Linked DNA regions of Homo sapiens: regions 1, 2, 4 and 5 are each linked to region 3. The links are contacts of gene promoters, found by promoter capture Hi-C in blood cells and fetal thymus (Javierre and others, 2016). All regions are on one chromosome and are shown on one strand. The core of a region is centred on a gene start or on the middle of the fragment in contact, and the rest is flanking DNA. Distances in the headings are between cores, read along the strand shown. Region 1 overlaps PTPRC (protein tyrosine phosphatase receptor type C). Region 2 holds the start of LOC105371677 (a long non-coding RNA gene). Region 3 holds the start of NEK7 (NIMA related kinase 7). Region 4 has its middle 29 kb from the start of PTPRC. Region 5 overlaps LOC105371677 (a long non-coding RNA gene).

Region 1 (2,700 bases), core at 21-2,520, 490 kb after region 3:
TAACGTGTTAAAATTAGTTTAGTGCCTACAGGAAATAATAAACTTTTGGGGAACAAAATTTATATTGTATGCTGTAAAGGCATAAAGAAATAGAGCCAAATGTAGAGAGCCATCAATGGTAACTCTATGCATAATTCAAATATTTTATTTAATATCTAAAATGCACACACGGACAAGGCCAAAGTTAATCTTTGCCACGGCAACAACCAGGCAGGGTTCAGTTTTACTCAAGACTTCCTAATCCTCTTGCTCTGTGCCTCTTTGCCATGGCAACTGGAAGCCAAACTTTGTTTAGAATTTCTAAATAATGTTAGGGGACAATGATGGTTTTAAGAAGGCAGGTGAAGGTGAGTGTTCTCTGGTTCTAATAAAGTTGTAATGCCAGGCAGATCTACCACACTATAGCATGGCAGTTAGGAGTATATGAGTTATGGTATGTGAGGTATATGATGAGTTTTGTTATGAGTCATAACAGTTAAGACTCATTTCCTGGACATAATTCTTCATTTTTCCATCTGTATTAAAAATATATATCTCATGTTATAAACATGGACTGTGCCTTGCACATCACAGACATTCAATGAAAATTATTTAATTGAATTTGGTAAGCAGTCCTATTAAGTTCTAAATACTCCATAATTTAGAGATTTGGGAATGTGATTAGAATTACTTATTAATTTGAAAAAAAATGTCCTACTAAAAACCTGCCTGTGACCTTTATCATTGCTAAAGTTTGAAATGTACTTTGTTACAGGAAAGACTACGGCTAGGGCCTATATTATCTTTTTCTCTTTTGTTCTGTGTAAGTAAGTATAGGGGCAGAGTAGTTAGCTTGAACTTAGTTCTTTCTTTGTTCTGGACTATTTGCTATCCTCTCACCAGTGACAATTAACCAGTATAGAAATATAGATGTTTCTACATTGTTCATATACTTGAACATATATTTCTTTATGTAGATACTCACACATAAACTAGTTATATATTTGTGGGTTATATATACTAGTCAATCTATCTATCTGTCTATCTATCTATCTATCTATCTATCTATCAGTTCTCCATGTTTGTCTATTTGGCGTTCCCATGAACTTCAGACCTTCGCCTGTGTTCTCTTTTCTCCATTTGGTTACGTATCATTGCCTACTATGTGTTGATCACTCTGATTCTCCATCTCTAGACTCATCCCTCAGAAACACGGAACTTACTACCTTTCCTAAATCCAGACATTAACATGCTCCCCAAGTCCTGAAATTTTGCTTTGTAATAATCTCTAATAACTTCTTGCTTTGACACCTCCATTGCCATCATCTTAATTCATGGCTTTATTATTTCTCACCTGTAAAATTGTAATAGTTTTTTTAATCAGTCTGAAGTCTCATCCTTTTTTTAATGTAATCTACAGCTTAAAAAGTAAAATAAAAAGTGAAGGGTTACTGATTTCTTCTCATTGCCTTTGGTATAAATTCTAATCTTTTTTGCCAGAGAAACTGGTTCCACTAATGATCTGGGGGCTAGGCCTGGAGCTGGGAAGGGATCTTTTTTCTTTTCTTTCTTTCTTCCTTTCTTTCTTTCTTTCTTTCTTTCTTTCTTTCTTTCTTTCTTTCTTTCTTTCTTTCTTTCTTTTTTCTTTCTTTTTCTTCTATGATTGATTAAAAGAAAACAAACAGGAGGTAGTTTTAACACCCACCTCTATACTTTCTCAAGGTGTTTAAGGTTCTGGGCAAATCCTACTTCTTCTATTATGTTCTCTTATGTCACTTTTGCCACAAAATATTTCCATTGAATTGCACACTTTTTATCACCTTTTCTTGGCATTTTTCAAGTCATTTCAATCTGCTCTTTTTTGTGATGATGATTGATGATGATGATGACATGTGAATTAGTGGATTTCTTGACATTGTAACCTACATGAAATCAGGTATAGGAGACACAAAAGGCATAAACTCATAGTTCCCATACCTAATTTTTCACCAGACACTGAATAAATCATAGATTAAAAAAATAAAACTGCATATTGTAGTGACAAAGGAAAGGAAAATTTTCAAAGAGGGAAGTCAAAAAGAGGGAGAATATGAGATAAAAAAATTAACCAGAGGCGAAGTGGGAGGATGAAGACAGCAGGACTATTTTGTCCAGATTAAATTAAGTTGATTTTGGATCTAGATGTTTACAGTCTTGCCTTTTTGTTTTTGTTTGTTTGTTTGTTTGTTTTTTCTTTGCTCCCTTTCTTACTCTCCTTATCTCACCTCTCGTCTGGAAAGAGCCTCCTGACTTCCTAAAAGTTCATAGTTTGAGAATGTTTTTCCTAAATTTTCTTTGATCTGCTCTTTGGACATTCTAGGTAATGTAATTTGGAGGGTCAATTTTATTTTTCAGATACACATACCCATAGGAGAAAAAGCAAGGAATGGGAGGGAAATACAAATGTAGCGGAGTGATAACACAAACAGATCAGGTCCAGTCATGGCAATTGCTGGTTTGAACACTGATGCTAGTGCTCTGGGATTGCTTGCAAGGGCAGATGGAATATGGTGCACCCTAGGTGTTGCATTATTTGCACGACAAAAGTTTGTAGAGAGCTGGGAATAATTTCTTTACAGACAGTGTGGTGATGAATGTCAATCTGAGTAGGTAAGGGGCAGAGATTTGTACTGAGGTTGATTCATTCTCTTGGTAAATACACAATGTTCACAAAGGCAAGGT
Region 2 (2,781 bases), core at 14-2,513, 360 kb after region 3:
AAAACAGGCTCAGTGAAACTTCTGTTCCATTGGATTCTACTTAACTGAACATGAAGAAACAGTTTAGTTACTCTAGTTTAAAAATAAGGGAATTTCATAATGGTCTATTTAAACTGTCTGCAAAAGAAGTTACAGTGATTTTTCTGGCATTCTCTCCCTCGTAACCTCCTTCCACACTCATTTTGTCTTTATGTCAGCCTATTTGGTTTAGTTTTTTTCAACTATAATAATAATTACCATTATTATAGACACTTATATTTGCTACTTATATATGAATCCAAATAGTCTAGTCTGAGGGATGGTGATCTTAATTACTGTGTTAAACTACACAGTATTAAATATTCTTTATGTTCACAATACCTATTGCAGGAGTTTAGTTTATTAGATGGCACAGAGAACCCCAGTTCACTCAAAATGTACCTTATCTTAAACTGGACTTGAGGAGCTGGGTCACTGGAAGTGGTAGGAGTAAGAATACAGGACTTGTCACTTTTGGTAATAGCCATGTCTGTATTTCTACTACCAATCTCAAATGTATGTTATCACATAATTCAATAATTATGGCTGAATAAGTGAGTGAGTAAATGAATAGTTAACATTGCACGGGACATAAGGTCCTCCAGTCATTTATGTCATTGATAAGTAGCTTTTTCAGGTGACTCTTGGAAGTAAGCAAACTCACTACACTAGTAACTCCTTGCATTGCCAATATTAGGCAGTCCCAAGAGAGCTGAGATGGAAGAACAGGAAATAGGAGAAGCATGCAGTTATCACAGTTATATTTCTTCAAGTTGATAAAATGGAATCATTATTTTTGTAATGAGCTCTATGCTTAGATTTCTATCTTTCTTTTAAGTGGTTTATTTCCAATAATTTTCTTTTCTTTAAGTTTAGGGACACAGTAGTCTTTCAAGAAGAATTATTTCAGTTCAACTTTAGAGTTAAAAGACACAGGACAAGGGAGCTAATCTCAAGTCTTTGATGATGAATTTAGAGGTGAAATCAGACTACCTGCCTACTCTCTTCCTGCAGTTGAGCAACTCACCATGACCAGAGGAAAACACACAACTGACTTAATCTCATTTTAAAACTATGACAATAAGCCTCATTTAGACATACAGTGCTGCTTGATAATCCTATTACACTTTCCTAGCATAGTAATCTTCTTACTTTCTAAAATGACCATTTTACCCTTTCTCGTGTTTGATAAGTCCCCTAAAATTACTCCTCATTCTCAGCTGATCATTGTCCTCGAATTTAGTTTGAAATTAGTGGTAAATAGGAACTTTCTCATCTTCCTACCACTAGATCTACTTACCTACTATGTTTGTCAATCCATGCCCATGGTCATCTTCCTGTTGAAGGCCAATTCTTCTACTTCGGATCTGAATTCTAGGCTTCCTGCCTTCTCAAGGACTTTGCTTCTGCAATAGTTCCCCTCTCTATTCGTCATAGAGATTCTTTCTCCTCTAGAGGAATTTCAATCAGCATATGAATATGCGATAACATTTCCTAGTCCAGACAAGAAACACGTGCTTGACACACATCTGTCTCAAGCTGCAGCCCCATTTCTCTGATCATTTTTATAGTTTTGTAGTTATCTATAACTGCTATCTCTAGCTTTCTCACCACACTTTCTCTCCTCAAACTCCTCCTCCACATATGTAAATCTAACAGTCACATCTCTGTCCTATTTTACTTGAACACTAAGCAGCATTCAAGACAGTTGGTCACCCTCTCCTTTTTAAGGCAATATTCAATCGGTATAGCAGTTAGCTATTGCTTCATAACGCATCACCCTAAAACTCAGTGGCTTAAAATGTTTATTATTGCTCATGAGTCTATGAGTTTTCCGGGTGGCTCATACGATGTCCTCTTTGCTCATGCCTGCATTCATGGTCGGTGGCAGGTAATGTGGCTGTGCTGATTTAGGCTGGACTCTGACATGTTGGGGGTTGGCTAGACCTAGAATGGCCTCAGCTGGGATATTTCAAAGGTGGCAGCTTTCTGCACACTCTGGCCAACTCTCTTCTACTAGCTCTATCCATCTAGAAAGTAATGGCTGTGATGCATTGATGACAATTCCTGACTTTGTGTGTATTTGTGTGCTAACATCGAGAATAAAAACCGAAATCCTTGCATTCCTTTGCAAGCCTGTAAATTGCATGGTTTTGTTTTTAAGTGCAATGGAAATGAGTAAGAACTCAATGGAATAATTTTTCATTTTGTAGTTTCTGATTGTGCAAAGGATCAAAACAAGGGTAAAGACCAATTAAAAACATGCTAACACTATTCTATTTCTGTGTGAAGATCTATCGGAACAGAAAAAGCCTTTTAGTATAAGTATACGTACAAAAAAGTCAACTTTTTTTCTGTGACTGAGAAAGCTCTCACAGATAAGTGAGCTAGCTCTGAAATACATAAAACCTTTTCATATGTAAATAAAGTAAAACCTGGCAGCTCTACCATCTGTGAAGGTGTGAGAGTTCTTAGAAAATGACTCATTCAGTTAGGCAAAGATGTGAAACCATATTTGAATGTAAAAATATGCAAACTACACAGAATCTAGGATATTGGGGGCAGCAACAGCACATACTCTTAACAATACAGTGTTTAGAATAAACGTGAGATTGTTGAGAAATTGACAAATACTACAGTAGTGAATGAAAAAACTAAAAGTAATAAATACTGCTTTTGAAAAATTGGTCTGACTTAGTATGTAAAAATAAGTGTTAAAGGGCCTACAGAGATCATTTATTTCAACACCATTTTCAGATTACA
Region 3 (2,700 bases), core at 43-2,542:
CCTCCTCCCCGCCTCGGGTTCAAGCGATTCTTTTGCCTCAGCCTCCCCAGTAGCTGGGATTATAGACTCCTGCCACCACGCTCGGCTAGTTTTTGTATTTTTAGTAGAGACAGGGTTTCGCCATGTTGGCCAGGCTGGTCTCGAACTCCTGACCTCAGGTGATCACCCCCCCCCCCACTTGGCCTCCCAAAATGCTAGGCTTACAGCCATGAGCCACTGCGCCCGGCCATTTTTCTTTTTAAAAATAAACTTTCCAGATCTTAATTTCATGGCTTTAACATTTTAAATGTTTGAGGTATAATCTACTCATTCTTGGCTCTAATCTTTTTGTCAGGGAAGTTAAACTAGTGAGAGACCTATGAACAACAGCAACAATTTAATGAGCACGTCTTATATGCCAAGCTTTGTGGTTAAGCACTTTGCTTTATCTCACTTAATTCTAACTATGGTCCTAGAGGTTGGTATTACAACTAATCTCCTTTTACAGAGAGTTACTGAGACTTGGAGAGGTTAAATAACTTGCAGCCAGGTCACAAAATTAATCACTGAGTTGAGACGACAATTAAGGTATGGCCGACTCCATACTGCCTCCTAGCCGTCTCCTCGAGTAGTTCATGCCCTGTTAACTTAAGTCGTGAAGCTGCTGGTGTCAAAGCATTCCTTTTGCAGTTTCGTGTACTAGGGTTCTGGGTGATTTTGCACATATTTATTTCAAAGATCCTCCGTACCACACCAGGGAGTTTACCTTCTGGAATGTTGTTGAAGCCCCTGTCCTCTATGCTGGGACACTTTCATGCAACGTTTGCTTAGCCAGACTCAGGAAAACGCCTTTTTTTTTTTTTCTCATTTCCCTGCACTCCACATTAAACACAGAGGTAGTTTAAATCACCTGGTAAAAGAAGATGGGATCACAAACGCTGTGGTCCAGAAGGGAACATCAGTAAGTCGGTTCACCGCTTGCAAGTGGGGGCACTTACATATAAATGAAGAAAAAACAAGTTCTTAAAAAGCAGCCGACCCTGGGTTCTTAAAAAGCAGCCGGGGAAGAGGGCTCAGGGGACCGGACGCGGTGCCCCGCACCACGCTAGGCCTGACAACCGGAAGAGAGGGGCCAGGAGGGGCTCCTCCAGAGCGACTTCGGCTCCAGTAGGGAAACCGCCGAGGCTCCCCCAGCTCCAGGGAGCGCCGGGGACGCAGGCGGGAAGCCTCCATCGGGCAGCCGGCCTGGACTCACGACGCGGGGTGGGGCCGGCGCCCGCCCCGCCCCTCTCCTCGGGGATGCCGGGATGTTTACACTCCTGACAGCGGCGGCAGCAGGAGGAGGATCGGGAGTCGCGGGAGGATGGGCCGCCGCTAGGCTCGCACTCCGGACGCGCCTCGCAGTGCGCAGGGTGGGTGCCCCGCGCCTGCAGCGTCCGCCGGGGCGGCGCGGCGGGAGGTGGCCGACAGGCTCCGGGCCTCGCAGCCTCAGCCCCCGGCCCAGCGCGCTTTCCGACGGCGGCGCCGCGCCGAGCCACCCGCCCGCCCAAGGTCTCTCGCGGGCGGGAGAACGGAAAACTCCCAACTTCCTGGTGAGTCGCTGCCCAGGGTTCAGGCGCCCGGACCGGGCAGCTCCTGCCGGGAGGGGCCGCCTGCGGGAGTCGGGCCGGGAGAGGGAGGTCGGGACCGCGCGGGGCGGCCTCCGGGATACCCTCGCTCGGGGTAGGTGGGGCGGGGCGCGCTGCGCTCGAGGCGGATGGGGGTTTCGGTCTTGTTCGTTGGCAGCGGTGGGAGGGGGCGGCAGGAAACTTCATACCTGGCCCCGGCTCTAGAGGCCCGAGGCCGCCAAGGGCGCCGCGGTAACTAAGAAACTCCGTGGCCACGGCGGCGGCGGCAACAGGTCTTTGGTTTCGGGACCCGAGGAACTTAAGCGAAGTCCCGCCTTCCGGCGGATGCTCATTGGCGACGTCGGTTATTTATCTCTCGCGGATTGGTGAAGTCCGTCTGTCAGGATTCGGCAGCAGCCCGACTTAGGAAAGTGAAGTGCGCTGGGAGAGAGTGGGTGGTGGGAGCCGGCAGATAGGGGAGAATCCGAAGTGGCTTCAGAAGTACAGGGAGCGTGAGAGGTCTGTCGGAGAATGAACTTGGGAGAGACTCGGGATTACAAAATGTCGGAGAGAGGGATTGCGAGGCAATAGCGAACATTGCTGGTGATGGTGGCAATGGAAAAGAAATTGAAAACTGAGGCCAAAGTCAGAGAAGGGTAGCCAAAGGAAAACAGAGAAAAGTGACAAGACCGTATGACCGCAGAACAGTGTAAGGAAGCGAGCACAACCTAGAGGATGCTGCCTTGAGAGCTAAAGAACTTCTGTTGCCTCTGTTACACTGTAGGCCTTCACTCCTAAAACCGCAGCATCCTCTATTTAGTCTTGCACTGGGAGCGTACTGGGGTCGCGGAGAGATGATGTATCGTGTTCTCACCTTGCTGTAGTCCTCACTGGGGAGAAATGCTAAAAAATATACTTAGTTTACAGTAAGATACATGTTACTGTCCTTGCGCAATTCTGGTGACTGAACTGAAAATCAGAAATACACAGAAATAAAATGATTATTCTCCTTTGAGGTTACTGAGCTCAAGGATGCAATTGAAAACACCACATTTCCATAGTTTGTAGAGCCTAATGTACCCATCATAATGGGAACCACTGTTTCTAGTTCCTC
Region 4 (2,762 bases), core at 50-2,549, 450 kb after region 3:
AATCCAATGATTACTATTTTATATTATTAGTAATTTATTAATAATGAATTAGCAGGTATTACCAAACACAGCACTGCTTCTTGAGAATCACTATATGTTATTGTATCATAAAGACAGAACCAAAAACCAATGTCCAAATAAAACCAAAAACAAAAGCCAAAACCATCAAACAAATAAACAAAACTGAGGCAACTTCAGGGGCTTTGAGTCTGGTTGGAAAGGACTTCTATTGCAACAAATGCTGATATTTGTTAAATCATTAAGATTATTTTATTTACAGAAGAACATAAAAAATAAGAATCTGTGTGTAATGCATGGTTTGTTGAGGTCTTGTCTTTTGATCCCATGGTGCCTGTAGCTTGTCTTTTGATCCCATGGTGCCTGTAGCTCTCCCTTACCACCTGTGTGCCCAAGAGGAATTGTCAGCTAGCTTGAATTGGCCTCACTCTACCTCTTACACACATCACATCCAGACACTGCTCTTGCTCCAGAGGATTCAACTACCATCTTTGTCCATGTGGAATTCCAAGTGGCAGACAATGAATAGGCCAAAGCACCTCATCCGCTGGATTCGAAAAAATAATGTGGTAGGTGAAATCTCCATTCTTGTTATACTGTTCTTTTAGCTTCTATAGCACATTCATTTTGTGAAAGTCAAGGGGACTCTCACAGGAAATTCGGATGAAGGAAAGATAAAAGCTAAAGTTCTAGCCAACTTCAACAACCCCATAGGCCTCATAGAGTAAATCTTTTAAAAGCTAGCTCCTCCAGAACAGGAGTGGAGTGGGGCCCATAAAAAGCCAGCCCAGGTCATCTGCCTCCAATGCACATCTGCACACTCCCAAATCTGTCTATCCCTTGCCAGTCTCATGCTTCCATCCTTTACTGAAGGTAAAAGCTTCAGTAAAACTCTACGCCTTCACAAAGTAAGAGAGATCATTCCCAGGATCCTTCAGAATTCCAGCAGGCTTGAGGATGTCCTTTATATCCCCTTTCATATTAGAGGTTTGCATACATTACAAAACATTTAAATTAACCTTTACTGACTGCTTTTTCTGTATATCCCCATACCTGAACCCACTTGGGGTTACACTTAATGAATGTTATTATTTTAATTTAGAAACTTTTAGAAATAAGGAGGTTTGGACAAAGGGTTGTCATTTCCTTCTGCCACATGCCCTAACATATTTATAATAATAAAATGAACAAGTTACATATAAATAACGATTTATGCATGTTTGCTGAAATATTTCAGTATGTCAGAGCAAAATAATATTCATATTGTACTTTCATATTTTATAATTTAAGCTCCTAAATTCTTAAAATTTGCCAATTTCAAAAACATTCTGTTTTCAAAAGATGGTACCTAACATTGTAATGATTATGCTATTTTCTTTTTAGCTGTCAGTATTTAATTGTGTGAAATAAATTATGTGGAAGAAAAGCAGATGTACTGGTGAACTATTTTCTGACAGGTTTTTTTAGTTAAATGTCAAGAATTTAGGTCATTTGGGTAACTGAAGTTTTCTATTACTTGGCAGGAATTTGAAGAAAATTCTAAGAATTGTAGTAGCTATTTTTGGAAAGTGTCTACTTTCATATGAAAATCCTGTCTTTAGAACATGCATAAATTCAGTGACACTCTTCCACACTTTCTTGCTCCCTTGCTATTTCTTTTTTTCGTTTCATAGCAGGAGCCTAAAGCTTTTATGATTTAGCTGGTCTTCTTCATCGAAAGGAATACAGAAAGATCTTACTTTTGCAAATTTTATAAAAACAAAACCACCTAAATATCTTCTAGGACTTTGAAAAGGGCTCATATAAGCCAGAGACCTTGAAATACTTCAATAGCTTCCAGGTAACTTTACCTCTGTTTCATTTCTGAGCTCTTGAACAGTGGAATCCAGTATCTGCCTTTATTTCTTCAACATGAGATCATGTTCTTGGACAGGACCCTTACATAGCTGCACACATTTACTGAGAGAGAACCAAAGAAAGGGATTCTGATTTAAAGTGTCTAGATTGTAGGGTTGACTCTCCCTTCTGCTTGTCCTTCACCAGAACAATTTACCTCTGGCCGAGTGATCTATTTAGTTTGTTGGGAATAGACATAAAGGAGTCTGGCCAGGCAGGAGCTTCTTTATTTTGCAATGTGTTCTTGAGTCTCAGATGGTTCAGTTCGGATTCAACCTTGATATGTGTTATGAAAATACAATTAAAACCAAAATCATCTCCTAACCCAGAAATTCTCTCCACAAAGGTACTAGAGCTAAGCATTAGAAGACAAGCATTAAGCCAGACTATGTTGCACTTCACAAGCAATCTGCTAAGAGAGTACCAAGGCGGAAAGGACTCTCGCCCCCATATGTATAGCCAAGGAGATGTAACCCATTGCATGCACGTTTTCAATAAAAACAATAACTAGTCTTCAAGTAAGAAGACTTAACACTCACACATAATTTGTCATAACTTTCCCATGGTGATTAAGGTCAACATTTCCGTTAGCTGATTGACTTTATCCAGGGGAGAAACAAACTTATCATGTCTCTGTGACAAGAGGTAGTTTTACAACTTGGAGCAACATGCCCATGGAGGAAGTTAGAATTCTACCCTCCCACAGAAACTGAGAGATAGGGATGCTATGTGTACATATCAAAAAATGGCTCCTAGGTTCTTGAGAAGGACAGCCCTTGGTCATGAAGCTGATAAAAGGCCCCCGCACACATCTTAAAGAGAAAAGAAAGTGCTTACAGTTACAATTT
Region 5 (2,700 bases), core at 107-2,606, 310 kb after region 3:
AATAAACAACACATAGATGAGAGAATTGTTTCCACCTCAAGTAAACAAACAAACCTCTATTTTCCAAACAGTTTCTGCCTTGATTGCCGTCCATTCCTTTATAAAATGGTGGCAATATTTTCAGAACTTTATGTAAAATTTATGAGGGAAACAGGCATAGTTAAGACACTCTTGATTTGGAACCATTGCTGATCAAGGGACAAAATGTGACATATTTACATATTTTTCTTCAGAATTGAAATAGAATAATGTTTTCTATTTCTCTGCACATTAAAATTTTAAAAGCCCTTGCATGTGTTATTTCATCTCCCAACCACACTGTGCAGTATCATTAGCCTCATTTTAGAGTGGGTAGCCGAATTAGCATTCAAACCCTGTCTCATACCCTCCAATGCACTGACAAAGCTACATGTGCCTTTGCCTTTTTTTTTCCTTAGGGGTTTTTGAGAGCTTAGATCTGAAACAGTAAGAAGAGGAGTAGGGTTAGGAAGTGAGTGTAAGGGGAGGAAGAATTAAATGCATACATAGGGAGAGAGGGTCACTCACACTGCCTGCAAGAGAGGCAAGCAGGGAAAGCCTTATGCAAAGTTTCATACAGAGCGTCATCACCCATGGTGTCAGAGTTATCTAGAGAATGGGACAATAATTACGACTGTTGTAAACAATCCAGCCTTAATGAAATATCCTTAAATACAATATTCAGAAGTATCAAACACTAAATGAGAATTCCTAAAGAGTGGATGAAAATTCAGTACAGAGATCCATTAACGTATTGAGTAGCTTTATATCAATTGCTGCTAGTCATATGTAATCAATTTCTTTTTCCTACCCATTCTTGTTCATTTCAGATAATTCACTTTGGTTTTGATGTTACTAGAGATGCAAAGTTGTATTTTATAAATATTTTTCAGTTAAAAATTGTTTCATAGTATAGGTTTTAAAATGTGATAATAAAGCTTCATTTTGAATAGAGTTTTGCTTTAATCATTGTAGATCAGCCTTAATGTACTCAATTAAAAGTAGTTTTCTCATTATCATAAATGTTCTAATATGCATTTCCACCTATCCCTAATTGCCTATCCTAGGGGAAAGTCCTTTGCCATTGCAGCACTAAGTCACCGTAAATGAAAAAGCATGCTTAAATACTAAAATATTTATGATCTAGTCTACTTGCATTATCAACTCATCACAACTTATTGGTAAGCAATTGCAGTGCCTCTTGGCTAAAAAAGCAATGCCAGAAGTGGTAAGGCTCATGCTGACAGCTGTGTCTGGGCTGTTGCTAGCTACTTCAGTACTCTTTGCCCTTGGCAAAGAACTTAGCGAGAGAACAATAAAACATATTGTTGTAAAACAGTAAAAGGTACCCAGTTTGCCAGTTTGCATATTTCTCTGCAGCTACCCATGATACAGGTAGCTATGGGCAGAGCTTGCAGCTTTGCCAGACTTGCTGGCTTTGAACAAAAGTATTTTGTTTCAGGCCATTCTATTGGGTGGGTTCCTGTGGGTATTTTGAGGAAGACTAGGGAAAGAGGTGTTTGTGTGTTTGTGTGTGTGTGTGTGTGTTTTACTTTGTTTTTACTGTTTTTTAACAACAAATCATGAATTAATTTACCCCATACGAAACCTAAACAAAGGAAAAAAGCCTTTGGGAATCATCTTTGAAAAGAGCTGGCAGCCAGGAGAAAGAAAGAAGTTTGCTACAGCAGTTAGGAGAACATATTTGTTTGACTGAATTTATTTTTTATCATCCACTGTAAGCTTTCATTTGACTTAGCTGTTGTGCTTTGTGCCACAAAGCTAGGTCTGTCCATGTCATGGAGGCCCTCCTTCCTGGAATCTCAGTCCACCAGCACAGTATAAACTTCCATTTACAGTGAACGCGTGGAATACCTTGGCTGTGCTGGCAGAAAAAGGGAGCTGATGCCAAGTGAGCTGCAACCACAAAAAAATCATCCAGAAAAAATTTGCAACTCAGAATGAGCTAATAAAGAAATCTGTTTTTTGATGTTTCTGGAACAAAAGCATGAATTATTTTAAATTTTATTTTATTTTATTTATTTATTTATTTTTTGCTTTCCTGAAAATATCAGCCTTCTGTCTTGTCTAAACTTTTGCAGGGTATTACCAAAAACCATCTTTGGTATTGAACATGTTTAAACTTTATTATCCTCTTGTAAATCTGGCATCTGTGGGTAGATTCCAGAAATCAACCATCTCTGCATCATCTAGAGGACAGCACAGAGCCTTGCATGCAGTATCTGTGGATGGTCATTTGTTGAATGCATGAATTTACAAAACATACTAGCCATTTATAAAAAGATTTTTTGAAATTAAATTAAGGTGAAAACAGTAAAAGATAATGTTATATATTAAACAAGCATCTTCTAGAAGTGGCATAACATAGGTAAATATGTAATTTGTGCAAGTATCAGTGAAAGTACCCAACCAAGTTTCATACCTATGTATCTGTTCTCCCTTAATTATATTTTAGTTTTTCTGTGGGCCATCAAAAACAGCCAACTTTCTCTATTTTTAAAAAATATAATTTTAAAAAATTATTCTCTTTGTTACAAAATGAAAGTCCAATCTAAAAGCAGATAATGACTTTGAAAGGAAATAAAAATTAACATTGGTTTAAGTCTAACTATGTTCAAGGAACTTAATTTTGTGTGTGCTTGTATTGTCTATAAATTGGCA

What was found. The method cuts DNA at HindIII sites, captures the fragments that hold promoters and counts their contacts. A CHiCAGO score of 5 or more calls a contact.
Region 1: a fragment that was not itself captured here is called in contact with the fragment with the promoter of NEK7 in region 3 in 8 of 17 cell types (monocytes, fetal thymus, erythroblasts and 5 more); the score reaches 7.5 in monocytes.
Region 2: a contact is called between a fragment that was not itself captured here and the fragment with the promoter of NEK7 in region 3, in 4 of 17 cell types (naive CD8 T cells, total CD4 T cells, naive CD4 T cells and 1 more). The highest score is 7.5, in naive CD8 T cells.
Region 4: a contact is called between a fragment that was not itself captured here and the fragment with the promoter of NEK7 in region 3, in 3 of 17 cell types (naive CD4 T cells, fetal thymus and activated CD4 T cells). The highest score is 7.6, in naive CD4 T cells.
Region 5: a fragment that was not itself captured here is called in contact with the fragment with the promoter of NEK7 in region 3 in 12 of 17 cell types (endothelial precursors, megakaryocytes, M1 macrophages and 9 more); the score reaches 16.3 in endothelial precursors.

The regions. Positions count from the first base shown.
Region 1 is chr1:198,641,352-198,644,051 of GRCh38, forward strand. The region is part of intron 2 of PTPRC (protein tyrosine phosphatase receptor type C); the gene reads left to right. Among named protein-coding and RNA genes, the nearest start is that of PTPRC, 3.7 kb to the left of the region's middle. The HindIII fragment of the contact is 4,043 bases long and covers 1-2,700 here.
Region 2 is chr1:198,518,233-198,521,013 of GRCh38, forward strand. It overlaps LOC105371677 (a long non-coding RNA gene), which reads right to left and starts at 1,578. Exons shown (of 2, transcript XR_922398.3): 1 at 1,319-1,578. The HindIII fragment of the contact is 3,154 bases long and covers 1-2,781 here.
Region 3 is chr1:198,155,706-198,158,405 of GRCh38, forward strand. NEK7 (NIMA related kinase 7) reads left to right here and starts at 1,293. Exons shown (of 10, transcript NM_133494.3): 1 at 1,293-1,571. RefSeq lists enhancers at 479-538, 1,969-2,018 and a silencer at 1,129-1,728. The HindIII fragment of the contact is 2,805 bases long and covers 401-2,700 here.
Region 4 is chr1:198,609,046-198,611,807 of GRCh38, forward strand. No RefSeq gene overlaps it. Among named protein-coding and RNA genes, the nearest start is that of PTPRC, 29 kb to the right of the region's middle. The HindIII fragment of the contact is 806 bases long and covers 897-1,702 here.
Region 5 is chr1:198,466,234-198,468,933 of GRCh38, forward strand. The region is part of intron 1 of LOC105371677 (a long non-coding RNA gene); the gene reads right to left. Among named protein-coding and RNA genes, the nearest start is that of ATP6V1G3, 73 kb to the right of the region's middle. The HindIII fragment of the contact is 805 bases long and covers 955-1,759 here.